5 separate regions of the Homo sapiens genome follow, and all the other regions are linked to region 5. The links are contacts of gene promoters, found by promoter capture Hi-C in blood cells and fetal thymus (Javierre and others, 2016). All regions are on one chromosome and are shown on one strand. Each heading gives the region's core, a stretch centred on a gene start or on the middle of the fragment in contact. The rest is flanking DNA. Distances are from core to core; before and after follow the strand shown.

The links. The method cuts DNA at HindIII sites, captures the fragments that hold promoters and counts their contacts. A CHiCAGO score of 5 or more calls a contact.
Region 1: a fragment that was not itself captured here is called in contact with the fragment with the promoter of MYO1B in region 5 in 1 of 17 cell types (M0 macrophages); the score reaches 5.0 in M0 macrophages.
Region 2: a fragment that was not itself captured here is called in contact with the fragment with the promoter of MYO1B in region 5 in 1 of 17 cell types (endothelial precursors); the score reaches 6.0 in endothelial precursors.
Region 3: a fragment that was not itself captured here is called in contact with the fragment with the promoter of MYO1B in region 5 in 5 of 17 cell types (M2 macrophages, M1 macrophages, M0 macrophages and 2 more); the score reaches 10.0 in M2 macrophages.
Region 4: a contact is called between a fragment that was not itself captured here and the fragment with the promoter of MYO1B in region 5, in 4 of 17 cell types (M1 macrophages, endothelial precursors, M2 macrophages and 1 more). The highest score is 7.0, in M1 macrophages.

What each region holds. Positions count from the first base shown.
Region 1 is chr2:191,435,428-191,438,127 of GRCh38, reverse strand. No RefSeq gene overlaps it. Among named protein-coding and RNA genes, the nearest start is that of MYO1B-AS1, 190 kb to the right of the region's middle. The HindIII fragment of the contact is 3,771 bases long and covers 1-2,700 here.
Region 2 is chr2:191,415,156-191,417,951 of GRCh38, reverse strand. MYO1B (myosin IB) reads right to left here. Exons shown (of 31, transcript NM_001130158.3): 30 at 1,710-1,837. Among named protein-coding and RNA genes, the nearest start is that of MYO1B-AS1, 170 kb to the right of the region's middle. The HindIII fragment of the contact is 2,592 bases long and covers 1-2,555 here.
Region 3 is chr2:191,484,737-191,487,436 of GRCh38, reverse strand. No RefSeq gene overlaps it. Among named protein-coding and RNA genes, the nearest start is that of NABP1, 190 kb to the left of the region's middle. The HindIII fragment of the contact is 6,496 bases long and covers 1-2,700 here.
Region 4 is chr2:191,464,080-191,466,860 of GRCh38, reverse strand. No RefSeq gene overlaps it. Among named protein-coding and RNA genes, the nearest start is that of NABP1, 210 kb to the left of the region's middle. The HindIII fragment of the contact is 9,484 bases long and covers 1-2,781 here.
Region 5 is chr2:191,244,029-191,246,895 of GRCh38, reverse strand. It overlaps MYO1B (myosin IB), which reads right to left and starts at 1,492. Exons shown (of 31, transcript NM_001130158.3): 1 at 1,270-1,492. It overlaps MYO1B-AS1 (MYO1B antisense RNA 1), which reads left to right and starts at 721. Exons shown (of 4, transcript NR_186085.1): 1 at 721-977; 2 at 2,823-2,867. RefSeq lists a silencer at 1,182-1,571 and an enhancer at 984-1,606. The HindIII fragment of the contact is 11,846 bases long and covers 1-2,867 here.

The DNA of each region.
Region 1 (2,700 bases), core at 20-2,519, 190 kb before region 5:
ACGTCCTCCCCGGGCACGCAGCAATGCTGTCCAGAGTGGGTCAATGGGAATGGAATGGGGGTGGGGTGTGGGGAGACAGCACACAACTTCATCCAAATATACAGGATGTTTCATGATTTAGAAAGTTCCCATGCTAATTAAAAACAAAACAAAACAAACCCCAAAATCATGTCCTTTGCAGCAACATGGACTGAGCTGGAGGCCATTATCCTAAGAGAACTAACGCAGAAACCGAAAACCAAATACCACATGTTCTCACTTTTAAGTGGGAGCTAAATATTGAGTACGCATGGACATAAAGATGGGAACAATAGACACTGGGGCCTCCTTGAGGTGGGAGAGTGGGAGGAAGAGGAGGATTGAAAAACTACCTATTAGGTACTGAGGCAGAATAGGGTTTGGAGACAAGGAACATAAGGACTTCCTAGAACAAAGTCAAATGGAAAACACTTCAGCTATAACAGAAAATATCCTCTCCATTTACGTAGGGCGTACAACAGTAAATGACTTTGTAACTTTACTTCATCCTCTTAATTTACATAGAGCATACACCAAGTAACCAGTGGAAACCTCTAGAGGGTATTTAAACCCCAGAAAATTCTGTAACAGGGCACTTGAGCCCTTATGCTCGGGTCCACTCCTACCGTGTGGAGCATCCTCTCATTTTCAATAAATCTCTGCTTTTGTTGCTCATTCTTTCCTTGCTTTGTTTGTGCGTTTTGTCCAATTCTTTGTTCAAGACACTAAGAACCTGGACACACTCCACCGGTAACAGTACTATGCTCATACCTAGGTGACAAAATAATCTGTACACCAAACCTCAGTGACACACAATATCCATGTAACAAACCTGCACATTTGCCCTCAGAACCTAAAATAAAAGTTGGAAGGAAAAAAAAAGTTCCCATGTTGACTCTTTCTGAAAAGTTAATTGTATGATTTATATAAGTAACTTTAGATTTAATAATAAAATAATCATTTTTTATAATTTTTCTAGCAGACTAATTGGAAGGATAAATTTAAGGATGTAATTGAACACTTTATTAATTAAAGAGTATGTTAAGACATCCAATTTGAACAATCTTTTTGCCATTGCCGAATATTTCCTCCCACTTGTAATCTCCAGTCCTTTAAACTCCCATCCTTAGCTCTGCCTTGTCTGCTGTTCTGTTCACACAGCTTGGGCAGTTCTCCTATCTCTCTCACCCTACTTCCCCATGAATCTGTCATAATGGTCTACAGCCACAAAGGCTAATGCTAGTCCATGCCGCAAAAGAGAAATGGAGAATTTTCCCCATGGCATGAAAGGAAGTTACATTTTTCCAGTAGTGGGGAAGGAATTAACAGTGACCCCTCGGGGCCTGACATCTGGGACTTCGGATGAGTAGGGTGGATATAGTCCAAATTGGCATCATGGAATTGTATTTTATTCTTTTGCTTTTTTCAAATTTTAACCCAAGTGTCATGGTATTTGAGGGACAGGACATATTTTTAAGGAAGGCAGAAAGACACAGCCTTATGTTGCAAAAGAGTTACAAAAATAACTCTAGTACTTCCTGATTAGACACATCACAGATGAGATCTGCCTCTTTGCAAGTGAGGTTAAAGTTCAAGGAAACGAGCACATAGCGAGATTTTCTGTTTTCCTTCTTTGTAAATATATACCCATGTGCATATGCACACAGGCATGCACACACACACACCATCTTTGGAGCAAAGGATTTTGGACACTTTTTATTTTAAATAACAGCTTAGTCTCAAGAGACTATCATATATATAGTTTTACAGAATAAAATACATTTGATTGTTTTAAATATCCATCCATCAGTCACAAGCACATGGAAATCTTAGAAACACTACTGCTAAGTCAAGAAAGGTCCCCTCCCCATCCCCACCCACCCCCCCCGCCCCGCTGTATATAACATTTAAATGCAAATAAGGCTTCCCATGTTGAAAAAGTGCCAGAAATAGAAGGAGTAAGAGTCTATATAATAGGCAGCTGAACCCCAAGAGTTTAAAAGGGAACAGTAAACTATCCTCTCTTACAAATCTTAAATGAAACACACGTAAAACTCTGCAGATGCAATTATTTCTCTTTATGGTCCAAAGCACCAGCTGCGTAGGTTCAAAGCCATCTTGGACTCAGGCAGCAGTTTGCCAGTCTACCTCACCTCTATCAGCTGTCATTCACACCAAGTGCTGAAGGACATGCTTAAGATGCTCACACCACTGCTTGAAACTCCAGTTGAAACTCCAGTCGTTGAAAAAATATTTTCAACTTGTCACCATTTTCGTTTGTAAAAAACATATCTGGTCATATTATTCTAATTTTCCTCTGTAAAAGAATTTCATTAGACAGTCTAGAAAACAAGAGGAAAGCAACAGAGAAAGTAATAGCCTGCTTAAAGAACCAAGAAACCACGTGTTATTCAGAATACACTTCTCAGCAACCAAATCTATCCCCAAAGGCATAATACAGACATGCCTTTCTTAGGCATGTTCTGAAAGCGTATCATTTTTGTAGATTTTATTTCTCATCATTTTACTCCCCTGCAATAGCTTGTGTTTTTGTTTTTCTCTAACTGGAAATGGCTTCAAACATGTCGGCTCTTCCAGAAGTGAGGAACTTCAGGTTGTCACCCTGATGAGCATTGTGTTTCGTTCTGGAGGCTGCATTTTAGAAGGGACACCAGTTGCCTT
Region 2 (2,796 bases), core at 10-2,509, 170 kb before region 5:
GCAGGGCCCTTGCTGCCCAGAAGCGAACTGTCCCCCTTTCCCAGATGGCACACCTTCGAACACAAGCTGTGAGAGCTGCTGAAGGAGCTCTGTGGTTGACTATGTTTAGGATTCACGCCACACGCTATCCCCGCAAAGCTCCTCAGGAGAATCACAACAAGATTTCAGGGACTCTGAGATGTAATGTAGTGAAGAAAGATTTTAAATTTCCATCAGAGAACAATTTTTTCACAGTACATCGTTATTAGCATCCTGTACAAGCAATGTTCCTAGAATCCCGGTTTGGGAAATGCTTAAAAATAGCAGTACTTTGTGGTCTGGATGTTGGTGTGATTTCCTTTCTGTGTAAAGATGAGTTTATTCACATAGTGGGACAACTATGAGACTGCTTCGTCTGTACACTGAGGAGCTTCTGCTGTCTGGGATACATACGATCTTCCCATGGTGAGTGAGAATTAGCAGCCCCACCAAAGCCCATTCTCCCAGATTATGAAAAACTTCAACTATTATAAAGGGATTTTAAAGCTCTAATAGGCCCTAACGTGTTAAATCCTTAACTGAAACACACCAACCATTATTTTTTTCCTAATTTCTTTATGAGAAAGATCTCATTAACAAGAAAAGTTATTTAGTCCGAACAGCAATTTCCAATATAGAGTATACATGAAGCCCAACCTCCCACCCAAATCTAAACACTTCAATGAGAACTTAAGAAAAGCCCACAGCACTGCAAAATCCTAACATATCAAAGAGAGTCTGACTTACAAAGGGGCAGAAATGGGTGTAAATTTATTTTAGAAAGACTTTTAGGAAGAGTTGAAACAGAATAGACTAGAAAATTCTTAATTAGAAAAGAATATAATTTCCTGAGCAATCTAGACATGCAAAGAAGTATATAAGCAGGTAAACAATCTATTGAAAGGTAACCAATTAAGTATAATCAACACAGTAACTCAGATTTCTCCAAAACACTTACATAGATAGATACAATAAATCTGGGGATGCCCCAACCTGTATGCAAATAACTAACTTCTATATTCAGAACCCTAATGAGAAATTGAAGAAGCAAATTTCAAATTTATACCAGTCTCAGATGTCACCACATCAAAGAGGCCTCCCTGACTCTTTTTTTTTTTCTGAGACGGAGTCTCACACTGTCACCCAGGCTGGATTGCGGTGGCACGATCTCGGCTCATTGCAATCTCCGCCTCCCGGGTTCAAGAGATTCTCCTGCCTCAGCCTCTTGAGTAGCTGGGATTACATGCGCCCGCCACCACGCCCAGCTAATTTTTTTTGTATTTTAAGTAGAGACGGTTTCACCATGTTGGCCAGGCTGGTCTCGAACTCCTGACCTCGTGATTCGCCTGCCTCGGCCTCCCAAAGTGCTGGGATTACAGGCGTGAGCCACTGCGCCTGGCCTACTCTCTGACTCTTAACCCTTTTTTTCCTCCATAAACACTTGTTAGCCAAAATCTTATCAACTATTTCATCATTTTATTTGTACATACTGGTCTCTTCCACTAGGATGTCAGGTACATGAGGTTGGAGACTTGGTCAGTGTCATTCACTGCCCATTTATCATGTGGAACAACTACTAGACACATACCTGGTACTTAATAAGTAGTTGTATTAATGAATGAGATCGAGAGCTGAACTAAAACAAAAAAGCTGAAAGAGAAAAAGGGTTTTCAAACAATACATGAACGTACTCATCGGAAATCTCAATATTGAGCTTCTGTTTGGTTTGGCTGAGAGTTGTGCGATAGAGCTTGGTGGCCATTTCAATCAGGTGATCACTGCTGAAGAGAAAGTCTCCTTTACTAGCTGCTTCTGAGCCCTGCAAGGACAAACCAAGAGTCGGTCATAATTAAAGATACCTTAGAAGGTCAATATTTACAGGCTTGGCTAAAAACATACTTACAGTCTCTTTAAAACATCAGATCCTGGAATCCATTCTCCCAAGGTAAACAATAATGACAAAAGCAGTGTTTCTTCCAACTTGCTCAGAGCACTTTAGTAAGGTTACCTAATCCCCTTCTACCTAAAGTCGGTGGATGCAGCAGAAGCACCATGTGCATCACTTGGAGCTTGCTAGAAAAGCAGAATCTCAGGCCCTACCACAGCCCCAGTGAATATGAAACCACAACGCAACCTCCAGGTATGGGTTTACACATTCAGGTTTGAGGAGCATGGACCTATCCCGCAACTCTTCTGAAGGACTTGATTAAAAAACTTTTCAGTGATTTGGTTAAAACCCTAATGACAACACTTCCAACAAATATCCTAGGGCAGTGGCTCTCAGCCTTAGCTGTGCAAGGGAATCATCTGGGTTTATTCAAAAAAAAAACAAAACAAAACAAAAAAAAAAACATGATGCTTGTGCCCCCTCTGAGAAATTCTAATTTGATTTCATAGGGGTATGGCCTGGGCATCAGAATTTTTAAAGTTCCCAAGCTGTTTACATGTGTCACTGAGGTTGAGAATCACTGTCCTAGTATTTGATATGCCCCCTTTAAGTTAAGATCCAAAGTAGGGTAAACAGGCTAAGGGAAGCTTTGGGGATTTTTCTAAGTTTAGGGTTGGCCAGAGAGTAACATTATTAGCTAGACACATGTCCCTACATATGATCAATATTTGTTAACTTTTGTTTATTCAGTGACTATGTGTTATGTGACAGGCCCTGTTCCTCCAGTGTCTCATTTAATCCTTAATCCTTACAACAATGCTATGAAGTAGGCACTCTTACTATCCCCATTTTAAAGATGAGAAAAAGTAGGTAGGCACACACAAATTAAA
Region 3 (2,700 bases), core at 41-2,540, 240 kb before region 5:
CTTAATTAGGAAATTATGTAAAATCAAGTGTTACCTGGTCTCTCTGCCTCAGTTTCCCTATATACAAGTTGAGAAGATGGAGGAGATGATTTCTAGGGAACTTTCTAGTTTGAACATTATATAATTCTACATCTGTGGCAACTTTATGTCTGGGGAGGCGAGTCTGCCATTTCATGCAGAAAATGAAACTCCACCAGAGAAAACCTCTGGTATGTGGAAAAGAAAAGGCAGTAGTCATCTTTTCTCATTAGCAGCACCAGATTCTGCTACCTCAGCTGGATGCTGTTTAGTCATCTGCAGTAATAACCTCCATTCCCAGCTCCAAGCTGCTGCGTGGGCCTAGACTGAAGTCTCTGTGGTTATGAGTCACAAGCCCATTAAAGCCAGGAATTGACACGAGACCTTGAAAGGCAATTTGCCTTCCATACCTAGCTTCCTAGGAACTGGTTTCTTCCCAAAGAGAAAATAGTATATGTGATTTATGAAATATCACATAGTATTTCCTCATAAGCTCATGGCTCTAGAAATGAATTCCTAATTCTCCAACTGGAAACATCTAGATTTTTGATTTTAGCTATTATTATCAGTTGTTGGATCCAGAGCTCCTCATGGTCCATTAAGTCTAGTGAATGCAGTGCTGAACAGAATACAGTCATTGATACAATCTACTTTTATCTGGGAAGTCTGCTGAGGCTACTTGTCCTTTTGGCATTTTCCCTTTGCTAAATGTTAAGGTATGGGTTCAAAGCAACAAGGCTTTGCAATATCAGCAAACCTCTAAGGGCAGTCCTTCACCCCCACAGGTATGCTCACCTTAGCTCCTTGCTGTACTACTAGATGTCTAATAAGTATTCACTGATGGTCCCCTCCCTGTTGCTACCACATGATAAATCAAGGAGGTGGTGCCAGCCCTACTTTCAAAGTACTAGAACCAGGTCAGCCTACACTCCCTAATTTCAAAGCCCGAGAAGAAGCAACACAATTTGCAGACTATAAAAAGAGCTTTGGGGATTGGATAGAAATGGAAACCCAAGTGGTATCTTCTGCAGAGCAAGCACAATGGGCCCCGGGGAATGGAGGGAAGTGGCTGCATGGACAGCGTTATTACTAAAATTTGGCCAAGGGAGATAAAGGGCAAGGCTGAGGGTGGGAGCATGATCCTGGGAATCCAAAATTAGTGCCTGAGAGGATCGAAGCACCAAAAAGAATGAGAGTGAGGGCCAAAGAGAAGTGAGGAAAACCACAAGGGTGCTGTATGGGATTTAAAGACACAGCAAGATATTAAAGATGTCTTCATCCAAGACATCCCAAGGGAAATGGAGAGGAGTGGGAAGGTTTTCTCAGAGTATCCATTTTCCTTCCAATTTCCCAGGAGAGGTGACATTTGTGCTGGTGTTAAGGGCTGAGTTGGTATGAGTTAGTGATACTACACAGGCTATGAAGCCAGAGTCTGGCCCAAGCAGGGCCCTACTCTTTATTAATTGTGTCATTTTAGGCCAACTGTGCCTCAGTTTCCACATCTGTAAAGTTCATTCATTTGAAAAATCTTTGCTGACCATTACAATATACCACACAGCATTATGGTGAATAAAACAGATAAATATTCCTTTTCCCTATAGCTTGCCTTCTAATGGATGAGAATACTACTATTACTACTAGTAATACCCATCTTATAATGTTGTCATGAAGATTAATTAGTGCATACACATCAAGCACATAAAACTGTGACAGCCCATAATTAATGCTCAATAAATGCTGGCTATTATTATTACTATGAGGTGGGCAAGCAAGCTGAGGCTATTTCAGTAAGAGAAGGAAAAGGATGTAGTAAGTGTGGAAATAGCAAGAAGTTAATTATGATCATAGTGGTGGGCACCTGGGGTAAAGATAAATTTGGAAAGTTGATCTGGGGACAACTGTTCCCTGGCCCTTGAGCCATATCTTTTATATCTTGAGAAGCAGAAGGGTTCAGGCTCTGGGGAGTGAACCTCAGCTCAATTACTCACTAACTTACATCACAGGTGACTCTAGGTAAGTAACTGGAGCTTTTTGTGCCTGTTTCCTCATTGGTAAAATGTTGAGATCTACGTCACAAAATCAAAGGGAAGATTAAGTGAGTTAATATTTGTGAAGCTCTTAGAACTCTGATGTCATAATTCAGGAAACATTTGATAAATATAAGCTGCAATTAATTATCCTCATTACTAGTATTTCTATCATCTTCCTCCACTCTCTAGTTTGGCAACATGTACTATCATAATGTGTTATTCTTGTTCTTTGCCTTTCCTGCTATTCCCAAAATAAGCTGCCAGGAAGTTATGCTTCTTCCTTGTACTGAGTCTTTCCAATACTTCCTTTCTCTCCCAGGGCTCCTTTGCTAGTTTAGGCCCTTACTCTTTGTTCTAAGGATACAGCAGCAGTTTCCCAGTTGGCCTTTTTTTCGTAAGCCATCCTTAACCCAGTCTGTTTTTCACAAAGCTGCCAGAGTAATCTTTCTCAAAGAGTGTTGTCCACATGTGCATCACTCTGTCTTGCCTATTGTACATCTTAGTCTTATTCTGGCATTCAAAACCATTTTATTAGCTCTACCATCCCCAACCATCACCACCACTATTCTACAACCTCCCTCCACCACTCCCAGGATGGCTAGTTCAAGTGCAAGGCAGAAAAAGGCATCTTGTCCTCAAGATATTTGACTGC
Region 4 (2,781 bases), core at 58-2,557, 220 kb before region 5:
AATTAATGTAAACTATAGACAAATTCCATTTTCCACTCCTGAATTGTAAGTTCCATATTCACCACATAATGTTTGCCAGGCCTACATGATGAATTGCTGAGAAAATCAAATGAGATAACATATTTGAAGAAACTGTTTTAAAACTGGTGAAATGCACACAAATTTAAAGCATTATCATCAACAGCTTTGAGCTTTGGGGCCAGAACACTTCCTTTTGGTTCATATGATCAATATAAAACATTAAATTTTTCTTTGTACTTTACTTGGAAGTGGGAAGGGTTCTGCCTACAAAATTGCACATGCATTTTATTTATGTCATTGCAATTTGCTATGGAATTGTCATTCTAGGCCCTTAGATCATTTATTTATTTAACAAGCACAACACATGTTCTATGTACTATTAAATGAACACTGATGACACTAAAATTAAAAAATATAAAGTACCATGAAACTATTAAATTATTCTCAAAGGAATCAGAAAAGCAAACTTTCACAATGCCAAAATAATTTCCTCTTTTGGAATATCAGGACAAGTTTAAAAGGAAAATATTGTTTGTACATAAAACTAACTGGTTTTGCCCTACATTGTCACAGTAAGTTGAATCATATCCATAGAGCTGTACACAGGAACTCTATTTTTGGAATGGAATCCAATAAAACTTCTATCTTGGCTTTATAAAGGTCTTTCTCTCTTTTCCATTCCTAGCTCATTGTATTTTTTAAGCTCTAACTAAAATTACTTAGTAAATTATTTTTCAAGATGTGAATTCATTTAAAAAGTTGGTCCGCTGTAAAATATCTTTTTGCCATCAAAGTTGAATGAGCTCACTTTCCCGTATTCTTTTGTTTAAAGATGATGGAAACTGGTAGGAGGGAGAAGTTGGAGGGGGGAATGTTTGGAGCCTTCAGGACAGCCTGTGACAGGAAGTCCCAATGGAGCAACCCACAGTTACAGGAAGTGAGGAGCCTTTCTTCCCAGAGTCTTCTGCAGCTGTGTGGATCAAGGAGGCCACATTCCTGGTTCGACCTCCACTTAATTACTCTGACCAACAAGGCCTCAAACTTTGTCCCCAAAGTTGTAAGACTATTAATTAATTAATTAATTGATTTTTTTTTTCAGACAGATTCTTGCTCTGTCGCCCAGGCTGGAGTGCAGTGGCACAATATCAGCTCACTGCAACCTCTGCCTAATGGGTTCAAGCAATTCCTCTGCTTTGGCCTCCCGAGATGCTGGGATTACAGGCATGCACCACCATGCCCAGCTAATTTTTTTTCTATTTTTAGTAGAGATGGGGTTTCACCATGTTGGCCAGGCTGGTCTGGAACTCCTGAACTCAAGTGATCCTCCTGTATGGGCCTCCCAAAGTGCTGGGATTACAGGCCTATTTTTTGATTTAAAGAAAAGTTTTAGGCCAGGCACGGTGGCTCACACCTGTAATCCCAGCACTTTGGGAGGCGAAGGCGGGCGGATCACCTGAGGCCGGGAGTTTGAGACCCTCCTGACCAACATGGAGAAGCCCTGTCTCTACTAAAAATACAAAATTAGCCGGGTGTGGTGGTTCATGCCTGTAATCCCAGCTACTCGGGAGGCTGAGGCAGGAGAATCGCTTGAACCCGGGAGGCGGAGTTTGCAGTGAGCCCAGATCGCATCATTGCGCTCCAGCCTGGCAACAAGAGTGAAACTCGGTCTCAAAAAAAAAAAAAGGTTTTGACTCTTCATCAGTGAGAGTCTAGGCACTGCTGTGGGCTCCACCCACTAAAGAGCATCTCTCCTCTTGTTGAGTGAACCATTGCTTGAGACTGTTCCCAGGCACGAGGTGGAAGAGCTCGGTAAAACCAAACAATCTTTAATGAAAGAATGTCAAACTGAAAGTCAGCCAGATTTTATGTGTTCTTACCATCCACCCTGTTTTCTTAGTAAAAGTTTAATATCTTAGGGATACCAACCAGGTTGGATAAAAATTATACTAATAATTTAAAAAATCAATTGGTTAGAGGAAACAGAAGTTATTGACTTAGAGTCTGGGGATATTTATATTTAATATATTATATATAATATATGTCTAATATATTATATATGTTTAGTATATTATATATAATTTATATTTATAATTTTATAAATGTAAAATTTTATGAATTTTATAAATAATTTAAATGTAATAAATATTACAATTTAAAAATTTATAAAATTACATATATAATTATATATTTTTTATATATATATAATGACTTTTCTAATACCCCGGGTGGGATAAAATGTCCCAACAAGATACATTTACTTTTGACCTTCAGAGAAAAAAAAAGCGATTTCTAGCCTTTTTAATAAGAGATACCTTTAAACAAAAAGAAACATATTAAAGTTGAGAGAAAAATTTTCATTGATACAAATGAGATGTTCTTGAAATGATTGCCTTTGTTTCCAACATCACGGTGCTCAACTGCCAAATACATTATGACCTTTGGGGAAACCATAAAAGCTCATCATTTAAATGCACATTAATTCTTCTAGGTCCCTGGGTGTCATTAAGTAAATTACCAGCCCTAGACATCTTAGGGTGTCTTTGGGGCCTGAAAATATGTATGCTTATATGCTTTTCTCAAAGAAGGACCAGACCCCAGGATGGCTGGCCTGCCTGCCCTTCTCCCTGGGAATATCAAAATCAATCTCTTTTAAACTCACGTTTAATTCTAGGAGATTGCTGTCTATCAATGCTAGGAACCAGCTTTTGCTGAATTGTAACTGTGTGCTTTATAAAGGTTTGATACAATTGACTCTTCACC
Region 5 (2,867 bases), core at 243-2,742:
TGCCAGGGCTCCTCAGTTCAAACCCCAAACGCTGGTGTGTGTGGTGTGTTTCCTGGGACAGACTGTAAAAGGGTTTTTCAATTGTGTTACATAGTCTGATTCATTTATTTATAGCAATGTCTAATTTTCTGGTGGTTTCTGCCCTCAAACAGTCCTGGAAAACTGTTGTACTATATTATACTATAAAACAATTTTACGTCAAAATTGATTCTATAAAATTTGTCTCCTACCCATTCCAGCCAATATCCACTAGCTACACACACAGACCCAGAGGCACACACATACACACCAATACCATAGTTCATAGCAAAATTTTTTCAAATCTCAAAAAAAAAGGGGGGGGGGCTTCTTTCACTGTAACTAAGAAGATTTGCTTTGAGCAATCTAACATTGGGAACGCCTAGAAACTCAAGAAGCACACAACTTGTTGCAGCAATAAACGCTGGGCCGAAGCCTGAACAAAGCACTACAAATAAGCTCTAGAAACTCACATGGCCCTTGAACAAAATGTTGTGTGTTTGTAGTTACCTCTCCAGCGCGCTCTCATCACCCTCTCCCAACCCTCTCCCCAACTCTCTTCCCGGCCCCACCACCCTTCGTAGCTCCCGTCTCTAATCTGGTTTCCATTCCAGCCCCGCCCCCTTCCCCTTCCCTCTCTGGGACCGTGAATCAATCCCATCCCGGGCAGGAAACGAGACCCAGGGCAACCCCCTCCGCTGCGGCGGAACAAAGGAGGCGAGCGCAGCTGCACGCGCAGGGAGGCCCACAGCGTCCCGGGCCCCTCCTCCCCCGCCGCCGCCGGGGCACACCGCACCTGAACCCCACTCCCCAGGACGCCCCATTGTTCTCCCTCCGCTTTCCTGCCCGGAGGAAGCCACACCGTGTCTTTCCAGGGGGCCAGGAAACAGCTGTGGGCCAGAGGAATGGAGGGGCTGTGGGTGAACACGAGGACAGCCGAGATTCGACTCTGCCCACAGGTACGAGAGGCATGGGGCAAAGTAAGAGCAACTTAGTTTACAAGCCCTTCTTCCCTCCCGCCACCCCCGAAGCCACTGCGGAGTCACGACCACCCTCCGCAACCTACAGCGTGCGCCGTTCCCGCCGCAGCGCCGCGTCTCCCAAGAGAGCGGCAGAGCCCGCTGACCCCCGCCCGCAGGGTGCGACGGGGCCAGGGACCGCGGGCACAAAGGCGCGGAGCAGGCGCCTCGGGGGCCGACGACGGACGCAGAGGGAAGGGCAGGGGAGAGAGAGAGAAAGCGCTCGCGCTACCTCGCCTGGCGCTACCTCGCCGGGCGCCACTCCGCCTCCACGTCGTCCTCGCTCTCCGGTGGCGCTCCGGGACGCGGGCCCAGCCCGGGGCTGCGGGGCTCCCGCCGCGGCTGTTCTGCCAAGGCTGTCCCGCGGCTGCCGGCCGACTGCGCGCCGCGCGCTCTGGTACTGCCTCCACGCGCCGCGGTTGAGGCTCCCGTGCGCACCCAGCTGCGGAGTGCTCAGCGGCGGCGGGAGGAGCCCGGCCACTCCCCTCTCGCCCGCTGGCGGAGGGGCCGGCCGAGGGGCGGGGGCGGCGACCTCGCTGCCTGGGATTCGCCCCTCGGCGCGCGGGCAGGAACGGGAGCCACCGCCTCCGAGCCGACTCACCTCTGTCCGCCCGGTGCCGGCTTCACAGCGCCCCCCGGTGAGCGTCGCGGCGGCCTCCGCGCCTTGCGGGTTTGCGGCCCGACCCTCCGCACCCGGGGCGAGCCTGGATGGGACGAGGCTTGAGGGAAGGAGGGGCGATCGTCGCGGCCCCCACGGAAGGCAGTCTTTCTACCTTTTTTGCTTCCAGACTCACTGACATAAAATGAGAAATACAACATTTGACAACTCGAAGCCAGCCTGGGGTCACATTCCGGCAAACAGTGGGAGTAAGTCTCAATTTTTCCTCCTCCCCAAGATGAAAATTTTTGGATGCCGAGAATATCAGAAAATATTAGTTTCACAGAAAAAGAAAAAAATTATACTGAGTGGTGTGGTGTGTCTTCATTTACAAGACTTTTAGTATCTTTTAAATTACTTAATCTCACATTGTGGGAAATAGACACTGGCCAATTCTTTGTGTTATAAATACATGAGAGGTAGTTTAAAAGAAATTTCAAATACCCATACGTATTTGAATAGAGTGTATTAACAGGTCCTGAGTAATGATCAGTGATGGGGTATATTATACAGGCATGTAGGGGCCAGAGAATCAGGACACCCCCCCTACACACACACACACACCTTCTCACTCAAGCCCTATTGCCTCATTGGAGAATTTAGAACAATCCTCTTGACCCAGGTCCTGGTTTCTTCATCCTCGCACAGGGAAGGGTGCGCATTCAAACTTACTCACTGGGTGAGATGAGGATTACTTGGCTGAGGTGTTAAAAGCACTGTAGACACAGTAATTATTACTCATGGTTCTAACTACTTTATCCTATAATGAAATAAATTGCCATAAATGGGCCAGGTTTAAATGGACTGACCTGTATCTGGAAACTGTCACTAAAGTGAGGTGAACCAAAGAATTCAGACCATATATAGTAACTGTTCCCACTGGCATAAGAACCACAGGCGCTGGGATTTGTTAAATGCCACTAGTAGAGTTTGGAAAGGTGGGACCTTCACAGACTATATCTGCTGGGAACTGTCTCATCATTGATGTCACCATCAGCATCACTTCAGATGTACAAGTGGTGTGATAATGGGCGAAACTAACACATACTGGGTACCAGGGACTGTTCTTTGTTTAATCCTCACAAAAAGCTCTGAGGTAAGTTTCTCTCATTATCCTTGTTTTACAGACCAGCAAAGCCAAGGACAGAGAGGTCTTCAGGGAATACATGGCT